Linked DNA regions of Homo sapiens: region 2 is linked to region 1. The links are contacts of gene promoters, found by promoter capture Hi-C in blood cells and fetal thymus (Javierre and others, 2016). All regions are on one chromosome and are shown on one strand. Each heading gives the region's core, a stretch centred on a gene start or on the middle of the fragment in contact. The rest is flanking DNA. Distances are from core to core; before and after follow the strand shown. Region 1 holds the start of EGF (epidermal growth factor). Region 2 overlaps ENPEP (glutamyl aminopeptidase).

The links. The method cuts DNA at HindIII sites, captures the fragments that hold promoters and counts their contacts. A CHiCAGO score of 5 or more calls a contact.
Region 2: a fragment that was not itself captured here is called in contact with the fragment with the promoter of EGF in region 1 in 1 of 17 cell types (total CD4 T cells); the score reaches 5.1 in total CD4 T cells.

Annotation. Positions count from the first base shown.
Region 1 is chr4:109,909,902-109,915,388 of GRCh38, reverse strand. EGF (epidermal growth factor) reads right to left here and starts at 2,506. Exons shown (of 24, transcript NM_001963.6): 1 at 1,927-2,506. The coding sequence starts at 2,053. The HindIII fragment of the contact is 2,188 bases long and covers 1,657-3,844 here.
Region 2 is chr4:110,541,789-110,547,275 of GRCh38, reverse strand. ENPEP (glutamyl aminopeptidase) reads right to left here. Exons shown (of 20, transcript NM_001977.4): 12 at 4,389-4,525; 13 at 4,206-4,261. Among named protein-coding and RNA genes, the nearest start is that of ENPEP, 68 kb to the right of the region's middle. The HindIII fragment of the contact is 2,937 bases long and covers 1,856-4,792 here.

The DNA of each region.
Region 1 (5,487 bases), core at 1,257-3,756:
TTATTGAGCATACTCTGCTAAGCACCATGCTTTGGTACATGCTAGGTTATCTCATGTGATTCCCCACAAAAAAATCCTAAAAGCAGTGGGCGAGGGTATTATTTCCCAGAGATACTCTAAAGTAACTCAGCTATTAAGTTGGTAGCATGGATATGAAATGAGGCTTGTTTGTTTCTAAAACCTGTGGTTCCTTCCACTCTGTGACACAGTCTCCCCAACTTATTGTTTCTATCCTGGGTTTCATGTTTATTGGGTACAACCTACCTCAATGAAGGCACTTCTGAGCCACCAGAGGTGGCAAGGAAAACAAGGCATAGACTTGCTTGCCAGCAGGAATCAGACTATTCTGAGATCCTAGAGCCATCCATAAAAGCTCATTTTTGTAATTTCTTGGGTTCTGCTTCAGCAACCTGGGTTCTTCTTTCCTAGCTTCTGGCTGCCTGATAGATCGGCCCAACCATCACCCCTCACATCCCATGCAAATGACAGTGCCCAACTCTAGATATTTGCCAACTACTCCACGGAAAATTCTCCCACCCCAAAGAGAGTCCAGTCCATTTGACATAACTGTATACAGAAGTTTTACTTCTGTCTCCAACAGCTGAGTCTGAGGTTCATGGGGCCATTTTTGTCATTTGTCACCCTCTTTTTGTTGCTGTTCTCTAGGACTATGTCATTAGCAGATCAGAGAAAGACGCCTCATTCATACACAAGAATTTGCTGAGTACACACTGTGGAAGCAGGAATGTCCTAGGTGCTGGGAACATAGAGATCACTAGGATTAAGTCTTTATTTCAAATACCCTAGAGTTCTGCTCACCTGTTACAAGGAGTGCTACCTGAGAACAGAGTCCAGAGATTCTGAGCAAAAGCACCTGATTTCCTCATCGGGAACTTCCTTAATGGGAGAGCCAGGACAGCAGCCTAGCTTTGGCAGTTTGGCTCCATTCTGCTCTCTTTATTCAAACTATTGCCTATTGTGTACTGTCTTCCATAGGTGTCTCTTCTGGAAACTGTACTGTGTTTTCCCCCTCAATCTACCTCTTTTTAAAAGCCAGACGCCATCTCAAAAGGGCAAGCTGATAAAAATGGAATGTCGGGGCAGCTATAACCTCTCATCAACAAAGGCGGCTGCCGTGTCTAAGCAGCAGGTTGGAGGCTCACCCAAGGATTAAATAAATGAATTAACAGTTAGAGAGAGAATGTTTTTCAGGCAATATCCTTTGGCAGGATTGTAATTCGCATTCAGTCAAGCTCCCATTTCCCCTTGGCAAAAAATTCATTTAATATGAGAGGACAGTGTGGCTTATTTACCCATTATCATATTTGGCAGTTCTTAAAGTTGCAATGCACCTGTTACTAAAACTCCGGAGTTGTGTCAGAGCCTCAGAAACAGTAAGAGTGGGGAGAAAGTGAAGGAGGTTGAAATTGAAATTTAGGTTAATTTTCACAACTACCTTTGTTCACAGTTCCCTTTCCATTTTTCACTAATTTTTAGAACTTCTGAATTCTTACAAGTTATCAGAAGGAAGGATTTTTTTCTTTGTGGCTTAAGAGTTTCAAACAGACAAACAAAAAATCAACCATCTGTTTCCCTAATTTCCAAGCAATTAGCCAGGTGTTAATTACTCCTCTTGTCAGAGTAAAAGCTGAAGCTTCCATGAAATGTTCTGCTAGTTTAAAATGAGGCATATTCATTCACTTATACACAGAAGTACAGTTTGAGAGTTATGAAGTTTTATAGTTGGTAGCAGATTAGCTCTAATGGCCAGTAAGAAAATAAACATGCATCAGAAAACAAAAATTAAGCAACTATACATACCCAAAGACAAACTTTGTTAAATGCCCAAGTATACCAGATTGAACCAACAGGGATGTGGGGGCAGTTTCCCGGAGACCTGGAGCACCTTTTCATTGGAGTACTTACCCACACAAGTAGAATTCCCATTTCCTGCGAGAGTACCTTCAGGACAGCTCCAGTGCTGCGGTGCTGAGAGACTAACAAAACTAAATTTTGAAACTACTGGCAACAGAATGATAAGAGTGAGCAGCATAATCTTGATGAGTTTGAACTTTCAAAAGAAAACAGCTTGATTTTGCTGGAGCATGGCCCGGGCAAGGTGAGTATGATTGACCCCAGATGCGGCTGCCTGAGCGGAGGCCTCAGCCCTGGGGCATCTTTTACTCTCCTGTTGTGCTGTTGTCCTCCAAGCTCTTTCTTCAACTGAGAGACCTTCTGAATGCAGCCTGCCAAGGGAAGCCACAGGAAAGATTTCTTTATCTATGTTTCTTTGGAAGCCAGTAAGAAATACCTGACACCCTTATGACAAATTTCACAGAGTTTAACAGCCCTGCTCTGGCTGACTTCACTGTGACAGAGCAAGGCAAAGGCTTAGAGAGGAAAAAGAAAGGAAGAACTGATGGAAAGTTCCAGCTACAACCCTTGGATTGGGGCTGAAAGAAGAAATATGGAGATACGATTCCTCTCCCAACAGTTTCTCTTTTTGAAAAGTGGAATGACTCAGCTTTGCTTTTTAAAGCTCTTCAGGCTCCACCTCCTTTCCTTTAGTGACACTTGAGTGAGCCTCTGTTTGCAAATGCGAATGTGGGCAATTCCTCCACACAGGAAAGCAGGGATGACTGCCAAAGAGGAGATAACTCGCTACTCACCATAAATATCCTGGGCAGAACTGGGAGAGAGGAGTTGGGGGCTGTGGAGGTGCTCATGGTGAATGGCGGGAACTGCTAAATATTGGCTATGTTTTAATGTCTGGAAGGATGGAGACAAAATTAAACCATGCAGTATAAATCAATAATAAGCAGCACTGTTGATAGTTTGGATTGATAATAATTGATCATTCACATGAGCAATAGTAAAGATAGTTCACCTTCAGCCCATTATTTGAACGAAATGTCAATACCAGTGCACATTCCAGGAGCTTTATCTTATTTTTCTCTTTCTCCTGTATAGTTTATAGCGGAATTTGAAAGATTATTCTTTCCAAATCAAAGGGAAATCCCTGAGGCCAAATGAAGAGATACAGTATGGACAGACACCTTTTCTTTCAGCATGAGCATGATAAAACATCACGAGGGGCCAGGAGTGCAGAGAAAGGAGTGGATTGTTATTATAGGGACATTGGAAAAAATAAGCTAACAGTGCAAAGCTGGGAAGCACTGGAAATCCAGCACAGAGGAATGCTTTTCCTTCTAAGATAATTTAGGCTTTTTTTTTTTCACATCTCTGTGATAGAAAATAAGAACTGGACGTATCTGTTAGCTGTCTCCTCAACCACTTTCTACTTGGAGCAACAGTGGTTATTTCTTCAGGAGTACAACTAGGGCCCAAAAATACCCAGAAGGCAAACAACTTATAGCAGATTTGATGCACGATGGAAATTTCTGTCAGTTTACTCCATCCTGGAAAATGGACTTTCATTTAAGTTACCCTGAGGTAGTGTTCCAAGTGCTGGTCAAAAATGTACGTAAAAGCAATAGTCACAAAAACAACTGTCACACTAGTGAACACCCCATTACAGAGGAGAACAGACTAACTCTAAGCCTTTTACTCATACTTAATTATGTCCTGATTATTCTCCAAAGACTGGATCACTTTCCTGAAACAGCTTAAGTCAGGATTTCTCCTATTTCAGCCAGCCTCTGCCAGGCAGCTCTGAACCCTTACAGGAGAAACAGACCCTGGGGAAGGGGGAAAGAGAAGTCCTTTAGGTGGTTATGCGGAATATTCCATTGCTTTCTGGACTGAGTCAGACTCAAGACTCATAATGAGCATCCTACAAATAACCTGCACTGACTCTTCGAGTTACTAACTTTATTAATAAGCTTCCCTTTCAGCACAATACATTGCCAGCATCCCAGATGACAGCAATGGAAGGGGCTTAGAGGACAATCAAGCATCACGCTGTGTCAGTGGAGTGGAGTGGAGAGAATGATATGAAGACAAACATGAAATGATCCACAGCTCTGTTCTGTTTGGATTTGGAATCTCTCATATTATTTTTGGTTGGAAAAAGGTTTGCTTTCTTAATTACATGTCACCTGGGCTAATGTTGTCATTAATGTTGAGTACAAGCTCCCTAGGAGATGACGGAGTCAACAGAGGTATAGCAGATGCTATGGCTGATGACTGATGATGAAAATCAATCGCAGCTAATTCATCATCTACAGTTGCCCAGATAGCAAAATCATAGGACAGAGCTACCCAACTGGGAAGGATTTACAGAGATATTTAATAAGTTTATATTCCAGCCGGGCGTGGTGGCTCATGCCTGTAATCCCAGCACTTTGGGAGGCCAAGGTGGGCAGATCACACTTCAGGAGATCTAGACCATCCTGGCTAACACGGTGAAACCCCATCTCTACTAAAAATACAAAAAGTTAGCCAGGCGTGGTGGCACATGCCTATAGTCCCAGCTACTCATGAGGCTGAGGCAGGAGAATTGCTTGAACCCAGGAGGCGGAGGTTGCAGTGAGCCGATAACACGCCACTGCACTCCAGCCTGGGTGACAGAGCAAGACTCTATCTCAAAAAAATAAATAAATAAATAAATAATAAGTTTATGTTCCTACTTCTGGATAAAACTGAACCTTTCTTGCACTCAAGAAAGGTTGAAATAAACTCTTTATTTTAAAATTGATAAGAAATGCACTATAACTTATAGGTTTGAGCTGCCAAATATGATTTAATTTCTGGAATTGAGTTAAAGTTAACTAATTCATTCGTTAATTAAACAGCTATATATGATAGAGCACTGCCTGGAGTACAAGAAACAGAAGTCGTAGTCCTTAACATCAAGAGCTTGCTGAGGTTGATTAACAGCAACAACAGAGAGTATGAGTATGAGCTAATGAATGACCAGCCACCAAGTACATGACTGGTCACAAACTGGGTGTCAGGAAAGAAGGAGGGGAGCTGCAATGTACTTTGGACTACAGCATGCAGTGTGAAGCTCTGTGGAGTAATTAGGATGCCTCAGAAGGACATAGAGAAGGAGAAGGGTCATGCTGACAGGATGTGGAACAGGAATGGACAAAAATTTTTTTTCTTATTTAATAGTTCCTTAGATCCTGAAGGGACACAGCTGGGTGGGGGAAACCCTGCTGGTAGGTCAGTAAGAAAGTTAGACATTAATAGCAAGGAGATAGCTCTGAATGGTTATAAGTGTGAGTGGACAGCAATAGCTGGAAGGGACTATTGGGACATATGTTTATGTGTGCTTGTCATAAAATTCTAACTTTTCCGATGAAATTTCCTCATTGAAACACAGGGCACCTAGTTCTCCTGGGTTATGTATTTACTGTGCTCAGCACCTCTTACTAATCATTGCCACCGCCACACCATCAACAGATTACTTCCTTAATTACAGCATGTCTCCTCATCATTCTCCCAGGTATTTTAGTTTCTAAAAATGTAAAGGTTTAGGGAAAGAATTCTGGATTTCCCAAAACAATCTTTCCCTACCCTTCA
Region 2 (5,487 bases), core at 2,075-4,574, 630 kb before region 1:
GGGGGACTTAAATTATAGAAGTTTACTATATTCTATAGTGTAGAGAGGTTGGAAGCTATAGCTTAAAATTTCCACCAAATAAAATGAAGAAGAGGACAAAGGTCATATGAGAGCATTCTTGCTCTTCTATATTGAGCTAAGGCACCTAGGAAGGTTGGGGGACTCTTACAGCAGAAGGTTTGTTTTTTGTTTTCCTGAGTGTAATTTGGAAAGACTGCACAGTCCTGCTTAGAGAAGCCTGAGTTAAGTAGTTAAGTATAGTGTCTTGTCAAACATGGCTCCCTAAAGGGACAATAAAAATTGTTGAGAGGTACCTGGGGGAGTAAAACTGACCCCATGTGCTTGGGTTCTTTGGCTAGTTTTTCAGGTGGTGTGAAGGGCATAAAGTTCCCAGCTGTCTAGTCACTCAACTGAACTTGCCAATTAAATTCAGGTTTCTGGCTTAAAACAGTCATTTTGCAATTAACTAAATCACCTTTGGATTCTTTTCCCATTCCCCATCTTCTCACTTCCTTTAAGGGAAGTCCATGAGAGGATGGGAAAAGTTGCTTATAGAGTTCTGTGTTGTTCTCTGGTCATCTCTGCAAACACTTACAAAAATGTTTGTATCTAAGGTCCATGATTTTGGCTTGACTGATGTTCACCTGCTGGTTCTTATTTGCTAACGTGGCCATTACCTTGCATATCCTTGGAGCCAGTGGTCCTTGAAACCTGGCTGAAATTCTGCTTAGATCATTAGCTTAGGTGGTCCTTTCAGCTGTTCTCTTTGCCATTCGTCCCTTACCTAGTGACTCCTGCCCCCACGCAGCCTTGTCAGCCAGCATACTCTGCTTTCCCTTATGTTATTACCCACCCTCTCCTGGCTGTAGCAAGAAGTGGGCTGAAGAGGACAATATAAAGTAATTGCAAACAGAAAACAAAAAACAACAAAAACTATTGTAGCAAGCAGGGGGCGGGGTGGGGGGAAGAATTATTTCTGTGTCTGTTTTGGCAAGGCCCCAAGACTAAGTCCTATGCTCCAATGCTCCAAAGAAAGACGCAGGACCCCAAAGCAGGACTAACATGGTCAAGAACAAGACTGTGTGGCTCTTTGCTGATAGCCCACCACCAGCCTATAAAAGAGGTTGGAGAAACTAAGGTGAGACATTTTAGTGGAGGCCTTTCAAAGAGTGCTGTCAGTATACTGAGTACACTGTAAATGCTCTCCCCTCCAAGGGCTAGGGCACCAGATGTTTTTCTGTCTAATTAAGACTCAGGAGAGAGGTTTCAGTGGGACCACTTGAAGAGGTTTACCTGTGTCTCCTGGAACTTGGAGGCACCGTGGCTTGGTGTCTGACACCCTGAGAAATCTAAAAGATGAGAGGCTATTTGGCTGCTGCTCTGGCCTCAGAGTGAAGAGATGGGACTGCATGGGGTGGCCTGTTCTTCCAAATATTGTCAGGACAAAGCATACATGACAACCTCCTATGGACCAGAAGTGGGTCAGAAGTGTCCACCTGCCCACCTCAAGGAAACTGCAGGAGAAAGATCCTTCTCAATGGAATGGATATGGGTAACAAAAATCCCATAAAAACACAACACAAGGAAAAAAATCAGCATTAAACATCAACAAAGTTCAGAGAGGACCAAAAGTAGGCAGCACATCAGGATTTTTCTCCCTCTCACCTACTCTCCCACCCTGTTCTCTTTGCCTTAACTTTGGAGAAACCAGAGGCAGCACGGTGACTCGGGAGACATAGAAGTTCCAAGCAGAGAAACGAAGAGGAAATCAATCACCCCATTCCCATTGCAGGTGACTGGCCTGAACCTGGCCTAAGCTGGGGGCAGGGAGAAGCTTTAAATGAAGTAGAAAGCTTTGATGATTTTACTTGACTGAGAAAATTATGGAATTGAGAGGGTTTGGATGAACTAGTGGTGATGGGTAAATTTCTTACCTTGAAAAGAGTCATATGCCCAGCCAGGGCAGTAGGAGTACTACCTCTTCACATCAAGTTGGAAGAGACAGGGGAATAAAAAATTCATTTATTTTCAGATGTATCATTTAGTTCTGATTATTAAATATAATGGTTACTACATTCCTTTGAATACCTCAGTAGACTTGTTTAAATTCTAATCCTGCCACAGTTGCTCACCTATTTAACTACGCATTTCTTCTCTCTTCCACCCCCTCCACCAAAGTTTCATAATGGTCTTAGCTTATGTGGTCTTTGAAGCTGCCCTCTTGGCTCTAACCAATGCTCGTTGAATCTGTTTCTCTCCGAGTCCCATTTTCCTCATGTGCTGCAGAACCTCATTGAGCCAGGTGATAGCACAGGTATTTTCTAGCTCTCTTGTGTGATCCTACATATGTTTTGAATTTCAAATTTGTTTCATTTTCTTCCTCTCCACAGCTCTTCACAATTTTATGGGGCTGTGGCCAAGGAGCTGAGCAAATGTGAGCAAGTCTTTCAGTAGTGTAAGTTATTTGCTTTATACTCAGTTCCTCAGAGAGAGCTGTTCAAGAGGCTTTCTTTCACTTCATCTTGGAATAGAAAGGACCTCCTACATTGTGGTGCAAATTAAACTGTAGAGATAGTACAGTTCTTTGTAATTTCTAACAGTGAAGAAGCTGAGCTTTGGAACAGGACAATTTAAAAATAAAAACTAAATGATTCTGTTTAAAAATACTTATTGATCATCTTATTTCATCATTTAATTTCCCAGATTCTATTCTACACAGTGCCTGGCACATAGTAAGTCGCCAATGTTTATTTATTAAATGAGTGAGTGGTATACTGTAATATAGTGAAAATAATCTATTACATATCCAGGAGGTTAAACTTGGAGATTCACTAGAACATCATATTTTCTATTAGCTACAAAACGAGTGTAGATTACAAATTCAGAAGAGCTCTTCTAAACGCATCTTCACTACTAATTAACGGTGGATGCATTTTGGTCATGTAATACAATGTATTGAGTTTCTACATGCCAGATAATCTTTTAAGTGTTTTATGTCCATTATCTCATTTATTCCTCACAGAAGTCTTATAAGGTCATCTCTACCTTGGTGATAAGAAAATTGAGCCAGAGAGAAGTTAAGAGACTTACTTAAGACTATATGGAACCAGGATTTTAATGGGGTTCAAGAGCCTGTTTTCGAACCCCATAATTCCTTCCTTGAAATATGTCAAGGTTTTCTGACTTTTAATATACTATCTAGGAACTCTGTGTAAAATAGTTTCCCCATGCCTTTAGTACTACTATACTATTCTTCCACCTCTCTATTTAGTCAGTATTTATTATCAACTGTTATTGGCAACGTACAGTCAGGAGCTGGGTTTGGGTGCCTACCCTCATGAACCTTCAGTTTGATGGGTGAAATGCACAATTAATAAACAATAACAATAAAATATTATGAGGAAATATAGGGTCCCATAAGAAGGATACCCAACCCAGAGAAAGAGGCCATGGGAGGCTACTGAGGGAAGTGGCTCCTCATTCTTAGCACATTGCTCATATCTAGAATGAGGCGACTACAAAGCCAGAGAAATAAAATTGGCTGTGTCCTCAGCTTCTGCAAAGTGCCAGGAACTCAATAAATGCTTGTTAAATTACTGGTGTTAGACTATGTGAATTAAAAAAAAAATAGAGGTACCATGGATACTACTTAGTTCTTCCAATCTACACTTTTTCTAAAGAGCAGGTTACCTTCAGACTATGAGAAAAAGAGTCAAATTTTCCAAATGGTCCCCTAATTCTGATCAGTTCTAAAGCACCATAGCTCATTCTTCTTACCCCAGTGACCTGAACAAGATTTGACAATTCTAGCCATAAAATCTTACACTGGGCTCGGGCTCACAGAACTGAATTAATAAAATACATTGTTTGTCTTTATATTAAATCAAATTATGAAGGTACATTTTTGATCATTTGCAAATGTCACTTCTAATTAGCTCAAGGATCCTGATATAGACAAACCATACTCAAAGTCAATAAGTTAGGTTTGTTTTTGTGTATACCTTAAGGGCTAATGTCAGTATTTTGACTATTAGGCTCATGTGAACTTTTGAAAAGAGAGTTAAGGAAAACAATAATGTTTTAAATAGTGGCTTTGGATATTTTAAGCTAAAATTGATTAATACTGCAATGTTTAATTCATTTTTAAAAGATTTATGAGAAAACCCACAGTATTTTAAGTAATTTAGTCTCATTCTAAAACGCACCTTGCCAAGGCAAAAGCATCATCAATAAGACTTGCACGATCTGCTGAAGAAAATGTCTGGGAAGAGGGAGAAAGAGAGATAAAAACACAATTCTTAAGGCAAAGCATGTTGAAAAAAATTAATATCATTAAGATGCTGTTCTTAGAACAAAAATAAAAGTTTCCAACCATTGCTATCTCTTACCTTGTGGTTCAAGGAGAGCGCTGTAGCTATCGAGTCCCAAGTTGCTACTTCATAATTTACACGATAAAACCCAATATGATCTGGGTTTATTTTGAGAAAAGCATTTCCACTAGGATTAGAGGAGTTCAAAGTGATTCCTGTAGTAGTAAATAAACACTAATGAGCAACATGTTTGCATGCACTGTCAACACAGAGAAATTAGACCCAGAGGGCAAAAAGAAAATAAAAGAAAAGAAATATTAGCTCAAGGAGGCAGGTTTGATTTGGATCCAAAACCCAAAGCCTAATTTTTACTTAGTTGTCTAACTTTAGAATACCACTATAATGAGTGAGCTAAAAAAGAAATAAGTAATATAAATAATTATACTGTAATTTATGATGGATAGTTTTTACTGGCAGAAGCTTGTCAAATGGGCGAAATAATTTCGTGCTGGTCAATCCATCAATAAAAGAAAACAGTGCCTCGAGACAGAGAAGTCCATGCCTTCAGGGGTAGTCCATAGATCCCTAATCATAATGGATTGATTACACAAACAATATTCACCAGGGCAGCCTGGGGAGGGGATACAAATGTAAATACTCAAAATAATACTTTGTTTATTAAAATCAACATTGAAGTTGATGGAAATGGCTATCACTAAGCAGGATAATACATTGATAATCAGCAACACTTTTAAAATGTTACTGTATCAAGAAGACCTGCAATAGAATTGAGATCTGAATGAAACGTTCTTGATTTTGTAATCGACTTCACACTTGTTCTTCCAATTTATTTATCTTTGTAAAGCCGTCTACTTCCTATTTCAGTTGGTTACAACAATACTTTTCCATCAATGGATTTATCAAATTAGCATTCTTTCTAAAACAACATCCATATATATGTGAGGCTCTATTGTATAGATTTTAGAAGCCCAAGGCTGAAGGAGCAGAGACTTATGTTTTAGGTAAAAGATATGTACTTAAAATAATAGCTATGCTTTGATATAACCATGTTCGTTAGCGTTACTCCTATATTTTTCAGTTCATACATCATACACTCTTTTGTTTACATGAACAATATACAATTTAAATAATGGTATAGGAACATAGTATAGTTGAG